Regions from separate parts of the Homo sapiens genome. Here region 1 is linked to region 2. Evidence: promoter capture Hi-C in human tissues and cell types (Jung and others, 2019). All regions are on one chromosome and are shown on one strand. The core of a region is centred on a gene start or on the middle of the fragment in contact, and the rest is flanking DNA. Distances in the headings are between cores, read along the strand shown. Region 1 overlaps UTP6 (UTP6 small subunit processome component). Region 2 holds the start of RHOT1 (ras homolog family member T1).

The links. The method cuts DNA at HindIII sites, captures the fragments that hold promoters and counts their contacts. A contact is called where the count stands out against the background at its distance.
Region 1: a contact is called between a fragment that was not itself captured here and the fragment with the promoter of RHOT1 in region 2, in 1 of the 25 tissues and cell types used here (lymphoblastoid cells).

The regions. Positions count from the first base shown.
Region 1 is chr17:31,883,583-31,887,366 of GRCh38, forward strand. UTP6 (UTP6 small subunit processome component) reads right to left here. Exons shown (of 19, transcript NM_018428.3): 8 at 3,654-3,731; 9 at 2,398-2,479; 10 at 842-923. Among named protein-coding and RNA genes, the nearest start is that of UTP6, 16 kb to the right of the region's middle. The HindIII fragment of the contact is 3,843 bases long and covers 1-3,415 here.
Region 2 is chr17:32,141,240-32,144,635 of GRCh38, forward strand. It overlaps RHOT1 (ras homolog family member T1), which reads left to right and starts at 1,263. Exons shown (of 20, transcript NM_001033566.3): 1 at 1,263-1,490. The coding sequence starts at 1,454. LOC105371730 (a long non-coding RNA gene) reads right to left here and starts at 1,896. Exons shown (of 2, transcript NR_136413.1): 1 at 1,786-1,896; 2 at 1-1,474. RefSeq lists an enhancer at 594-763 and silencers at 1,224-1,453, 1,484-1,543. The HindIII fragment of the contact is 2,047 bases long and covers 225-2,271 here.

The DNA of each region.
Region 1 (3,784 bases), core at 244-2,743, 260 kb before region 2:
GGGATTACAGGCTTAAGCCACCGTGCCTGGCTAGATTTTTTTTTTTTATTGAATAAACTATTTCCCCCAGTAAGTGAATCAAAGAACTCAATCAGGAAGATACTTTTTTTCTGAGACACGGTCTCACTCTGTGACCCAGACAGGAGTGGAGTGGCAGGATCACAGTTCACTCCAGCCTCAACCTCCCAGACTCAGGTGATCTTCCCACCTCAGCCTCCAGAGTAGGTAGGACCACAGGCATGCACCACCACACCTAGCTTATTTTTTGTAGAGACAGGGTTTCACCGTGTTGCCTAGGGTGGTCTCAAACCCCTGAGCTCAAGGGATCCACCTGCCTTGGCCTCCCAAAGTACTGGGATCCCAAAGTGTGAGCTACTACACTGGGCCAGGAAATTTTTTTTTAACGTAATATGATATTAATTTTTTTTTTTTTTTGAGATGGAGTTTTGCTTGTCACCCAGGCTGGAGTGCAATTGTGGGATCTTGGCTCACTGCAACCTCCGCCTCCCAGGTTCAAGCGAGTCTCCTGGCTCAGCCTCCCAAGTAGCTGGGATTACAGGCATGCACTACCACGCCCAACTAATTTTGTATTTTTAGTAGAGACGGGGTTTCACCATGTTGGTCAAGCTGGTCTCAAACTCCTGACCTCTGGTGATCCACCCACCTCAGTCTCCCAAAGTGCTGGGATTACAGGTGTGAGCCACTGCACCCGGCCAATATTAGCTTTTATTCCAGGGATTTAGTGTGGTATCTTCTTTCTCTTCTACTAAATATCCAACCTCAAACCCTTAATCTCAAGATCAGAAATAGATATATTCACCTTTCTACTAACTTTACTTACTCATCATAAATCTCTTTTTGTAGATCTTTGGCAAAGTCAAATAGCTGTGCAATCGAAAGCAGTGACACGTGAAATTCTGCACCTAAATTTAAAAAGCAGGGGAGGGGAAGTTTATTGCCAATAAGAATCACTTTACTTTAAAAGTAGCATTCTTTTCATGTACTGGAGTTAATCTTCTTGTTTTTTGAAATGAGAAATAGAATAAAATAGAAGAAAAGTCATCCCATAGTCCCCTCACCCCAGTGTCCCCCTACTCAAGCAAAGCTATTGTTAATCTTTGGAGTATTCATAAAAAAAGAACTAATTTTCAACTCCCCACGATTTAATTACTCCATGAGAACTTACTGAGGATTGGTGCAATGGCTCACACCAGTTATGCCATCACTTTGGGAGGCCAAGGCAGGAGGATCACTTGAGCTCAGGAGTTCAAGACTAGCCCGGACAACATGGTGAAACCTCATCTCTACTACAAGTACAAAAACTAGCCAGGCATAGAGGTCCATGCCCAGCTACTCAGGAGGCTGAAATGGGAGAATCACCTGAGCCCATGAAGTCGAGGCTACAGTGAGCCATAATTGTACCACTGCACTCCTGCGTGGGTGACAGAGTAAGACCCTGTCTCAAAAAAAAAACATGGAAGGATAAATGAGTACACGCTGGGTACAGTATACACTGCTCGTTGATGGGTGCACCAAAATCTCAGACATCACCACTAAACCTGTTCCCCAAAAACCTATTGACATTTTTATTTTTTTGAGATGAAGTCTCGCTCTGTTGCCCAGGCGCTCTCAGCTCACTGCAACCTCCACCTCCCGGGTTCAAGCAATTCTCCTGCCTCGGCCTCCCAAGTAGCTGGGATTACAGGCGCCCACCACCACACCCAGCTAATTTTTGTATTTTTAGTAGAAATGGGGTTTCACCATGTGGGCCAGGCTGGTCGCAAACTCCTGACCTCAGGTGATCCACCTGCCTTGGCCTCCCAAAGTGCTGGGATTACAGGCATGAGCCACCATACCCGGCCCAAACCTATTAAAATTTAAGGGAAAAAAATGGGAGTAGAATATAAATTTTAAAAAGAGACTTATGCCAGGCATGGTGGCTCACGCCTGTAATCCCAACACTTTGGGAGGCCAAGGCGGGCAGGTCACAAGGTCAGGAGTACGAGACCAGCCTAGCCAACATAGTGAAACTACGTCTCTACTAAAAATACAAAAATTAGCTGGGCAGGGTGGCACACACCTATAGTCCCAGCTACTTGGGAGGCTGAGGCAGGAGAATCACTTGAACCCAGGAAGCAGAGGTTGTGGTGAGCCGAGATCACGCCAATGCACTCCAGCCTGGGCAACAGATCAAGACTCCATCTCAAAAAATAAATAAGTTACTGAAATGTTCAATTATAGCCTAGGAAAAATAAGTATTTTCTGAAAGAAACAGGACACTATTCCTACAGAGTTTTATACACATTCTAATGGAAAATTTCAAAACTAGCTAAAGATCTTCATTAAGAAAAGAATGTTTCACTTTCCTACCAAAAATAATGTTCAAAAGATACCTACCTTTAATTATGCTTACAGAATTTTTGTAGATGATCCATGCCAACTCGCCCTTAAGGATTTCTTCAGAATAATCAGGATTCTCCTAAAGAGTGTTATATCAAACGTAACTTAACAGGTAGTACAAGGAGGAAAAGCACTAGGACGAAAATTAACAATCCTAGACTACCTGTGCCATATGACCACTGGTAAATCATGTCTCTCTCTCCGGGCCAGTTCCCTCACTTGTAAAGTGTGCAGCTTGAACAAGATCACTGACCTTCCAACTGTGTTCTCTGAGGCTCCAAGAGTGGTGGCAAGATCACATGGCTTAAGGCCTCACTCTCCATTTGGACCAAAACAGGTCAGATTTTACATGTCTTGTTTGCGCTTCTCTGTAACATTTTATTTGAATAAAAAAGTCCTGGCCTGGCGTGGTGACTCATGCCTATAATCCTAGCACTTTGGGAAGCCGAGGCAGGCGGATCACTTGAGATCAGGAGTTCATGACCAGCCTGGCCAACATGGCAAAACCCCATCTCTACTAGAAATACAAAAATTAGCCGGGAGTGGTGGCGGGCACCTGTAATCCCAGCTACTTCGGAGGCTGTGGCAGGAGAATCACTTGAACCCGGGAGGCGGAGGTTGCAGTGAGCCAAGATCGTGCCAGTGCACTCCAGCCTGGGCGACAAGGAGCAACACTCCGTCTGAGAAAAAAGTTCTAAGCTGGAAACCACAATAACAGACAATAGCAAAGTTTCTTCTCAGCTCTAACATTCTAAATCTTTTAATTATTCTGTCATATAAAAAATTATATAAAAAGGGAAAGAAAGAAGGCCAGGAAACCACACATTTCACAACCTTTCTCAAGCTCCTTGAATCCATTAATATATCACTTTATGAGATCATACAGCGTTAAAGAATAGTATTTGGCTATTCTGTAAGTAACAATTTTGAGAACCACATTAATTAGTCCAAATATCTATTTTTATAGCATAAAGCTTCATTTTCCTAACTAAGTCCATTTATAAGTAACACTAACTCATCTGGAAGTTTCAAAATGTAACAACATTAAACATTAAAGCTTGAACCCGGAGGCAGAGGTTGCAGTGAGCCAAGATGGTGCCACTGCACTCCAGCCTGTGTGACAGACCGAGACTCCGTCTCAAAAAAAAAGAAAAAAAAAGAAAAATATATTCCAAATATTTTCTCTTACTCCTAAGCAGGCTCAAAATGTTATACATCGTTAGCAAGTGAGAATAAAATAATTAGAACCTTACCACATCCATACTGGCTTTTTCAAATTCTTCCTTCTCCTTCCTCAGTTTTTCAGCATGCATCAGCTCCATCCTAAAGTACTACAGAAGAGAAATAAACTGAAAATCTTTGGAGATGCTTTTTAAAATTTTTT
Region 2 (3,396 bases), core at 13-2,512:
TGACTTTTTAATATAATAATGATAGCTGAGATCAGTAGAGCACACGCTCTGAGTCTGGCACTGTACCAAATGCTTGACAAGTATTATAGTATTTATTACTCACAACCATCTCAAGAGGAAGGTATTATCATCATTATTTCCATGCTACAGAAGAAGGAACAGTGGCTGAGGGAAGTAAAAATAAAAGCACTTAGTCGAGATCACAGAGCTATTATGTGGAGCCTAGATTCAAACCCAGGAAATTTGCCAGCAACTCTTAACTGCTGCAAGAGACCACATGACTTCTCCTAGGAGAAAGGGAAGTTGGTATTACGCACATTTCATTCCCTTTAAGTGTTTATTGTGTAATATTTAAGATAGAAAAAATGTACATTATGCACAGATAGTGCTTCCTCATTAATTTATGTATTTTATATTTCCCACTGTGTGCCAAGTATTAGGGATGTGATATATATTCGCACGCGTATGTATATATATATATTTGCCATTGTGTACCAAACATTAAGCATGTAACAACAAATTCCTCCAGATGGAGAGGGTCACGAGAAAATTAAGGCAATGTTAGAAAAATCATCTAGAGTTTATTATCGAGTGCCACCTCCGTGTCTAGCATTACGCTGGGTAAGCCTGAGTAAAGAAGAGTGTCCGAAAACCCTGCCATAAAATAAACTACATAGACAGAAAAAAAGTCACTTAGTTTGGTTATAAAGAAAGGAGTCTTGTTCACACAGCGTAAAAACGAATCTTATAATCGTATTTTATAAGCATCAGAGGCAAAAGCAACTAGGGTGACGGGCTTTGGGGAGTGGAAAGCGCCGGATCCTGGGAGCCAGTCGCCCTACTCGATCAAGCATTTTCTGACGGCCCTATCCAATAACGTGGGGACGCAGCTGAAAACCATGCAAGCTGATCGCTGCCCTCCCGGAGTTTATGGTCTGGTGAGAAGATCCCTGCTCTGAGTCACTGCCAAGCTCTAGCTATGTGACTTTGAACAGGGAATTTCTGTCCCTATCTATAAAATAAACGGGGTTAAACCAGGGAATCCGCCATTCAAATTCCTGGCCCAAGTGTCTCCGGGGTCGCGGTGCCCAAAGGAGGGTGGGCGAGGCTCCCTGGGCCTGCGCTGCGGCGGCCTGACAGCGGGAGCGCTGTTCCGGCGCAGAGCGCGTTCGCGTTCCGAAAGCGCGTGTCCCTCGCCGCGTGCCGTCGTCCCCGCCGCCGCCGCCGCCGCCGCCGCCGCCGCCGCCGCCGCCGCCGCCGCCACAGCCCGCTGGGCCGGAGGAGGCGGAGCTGGCGCTGTCCCGGCTCTCTTGCGGGGAAGCAACTGAGGGGGCGGCGCGGCGGGCCCCGGCGGCCGAAGAGGCTGGCAGGTGGCGCCGTGGGGTGGGTGCTCCTGGTGAGAGGAGTCCACTCCGTGCGTGCGGGCGGAGGCCGGCCCCCGAGAGCCGCCGACATGAAGAAAGACGTGCGGATCCTGCTGGTGGGAGAACGTGAGTCCGCACCCTCTGGCCGGCCCCTGAGTCCCTGCCCTCCCTGCCCCTGCAGCCCCTGTCGCCCCTGTCGCCCCTGCAGCCCCAACCTTTGCAGCCCCGGCCCTTCTCGCGCCTCACAGCTCCGCTCGCCTTTCTCCGCGTTCCTAGGCCTTCCAGCCCCTTCACTCTTCTCTTTTGGCTGGCCGCCGGCGGCCCTCACCCTGTCACCTCACCTGGGCCCTCCAGAGATCTCCTTTCCCTGTTCCCCAGCCGTCCTCCCAAGCCATGTCCCTATTAGCCCTAACCGCCCGACCTCATCCCTCCGAAGCTTCTCTCCTCCTTTTCCTCTTCGAACCCTGTCCTTCTGGGCCTCACAGTTTCCCAGGCCGCCTCCTTTCAGACCTTCTTGTCTTCTGGAGATTCCCTTATCACTGCCAGGCAGGTGCTGGAATAAGCAGACTGACCAATAGGGATTGCGTGAACCGGCTCCCGGGGAAGCTGGGGGAGGGGTGCAGAACTATTCGACTTGTGGGCAAGGTCAGGTTTCTGCATTTTTTTGGCACTCGCAGTCTTCACTCTCTCTATGTATTGACATTAAGATATGAGTAGTGGAAAGGGCCGGATCCTTTTTAGCAGTACTTGTACTTTGCATTGGACTAACTCCTCGTACTCGAGATATTTCATCAAAAATTTTTACTCAACTTCGAGTTATGCAAGCGCTCAATGAATTAGAATTATCTGGGGAGGGTCCAATTGTTGTTACCCTAAAGCGTAATCTTTGCCCTCTTTTTAAGCATTATTTATTCCATAGTTACTTCGTAGTTAACTTATTAATAACCACAGGCACACAGACATTTGATATCTCCCCCCACCCAGAAATTTCATACATTTCACCTTTTGAAAATATAATAAAGGAGAGTTCCCTCTGTTCACTGACATGAGGACGCAACAGCGGGGACTTCTTGATTTCACTCTGCAAGTTATGTAACTCAGTTGCTAGGACTAAAATAAGAAAGTGGGCCAGGGATAACTGGATTGTTTGTTTTAAAGAGTTAATACATTCGTTAATAGTCTGCCATTGCTGTTTCGAAGCATTCTGTTTTAAACCATTATTTCATTCTTGGTAACCCCTCAGGGTCACCGTGATGGAATCCCAAGGAAGAAAGTTAACACGTTTTTACCCTCTTCTGTAGTGTTCTTTGAGTTCATTGAAATTTCATCCACCTGCTGTTTGGAGAAATCTTCCTTTAGAATTAGAATTTAGGAGTAAGCTTAGCCAGCCATAGTTTACTTTTTGATTTGCAGTTGTAAATTTTTATTTTTATTTATAACTATATCTTAATCTGTATTTTTCATGGACTTCCTTGACAAGGTTCAGGAAGGTGTTATTTAACATATAATTCATGCTTATGCTTTTGGAGCAAGGTAGGGAAAGTGAGTAGACGACTTGCTTAAAAAACTGATCCTTAAATATATGATGAAATAGTTTGTTGTTGTTGTTGTTTTGAGACAGAGTCTCGCTCTGTCACCGAGGCTGGAGTGCAGTGCCTGGGATTACAGGCACTGTGGCTCATGCCTGTAATCCCAGCACTTTGGGAGGCCAAGGCAGGCAGATCACTTGAGGTCAGGAGTTCGAGACGAGCCTGGCCAACATGGTGAAACCCCGTCTCTACTAAAAATACGAAAATTAGCCGGGTGTGGTGGCACACACCTGTAGTCCCAGCTACTCTGGAGGCTGAAGCAGGAGAATCACTTGAACCCTGGAGGAGGAGGTTGCAGTGAGCTGAGACATGCCAGCCTGGGCAGCAGAGCAAGACTCTGTCTGAAAAAAAACCTTTAATAATGCTCCCACACAGCTGGGTGAGGTGGCTTATACCTGTATTCCAAGCACTCTGGGAGGCTGAGGCAGGAGGATCACTTGAGG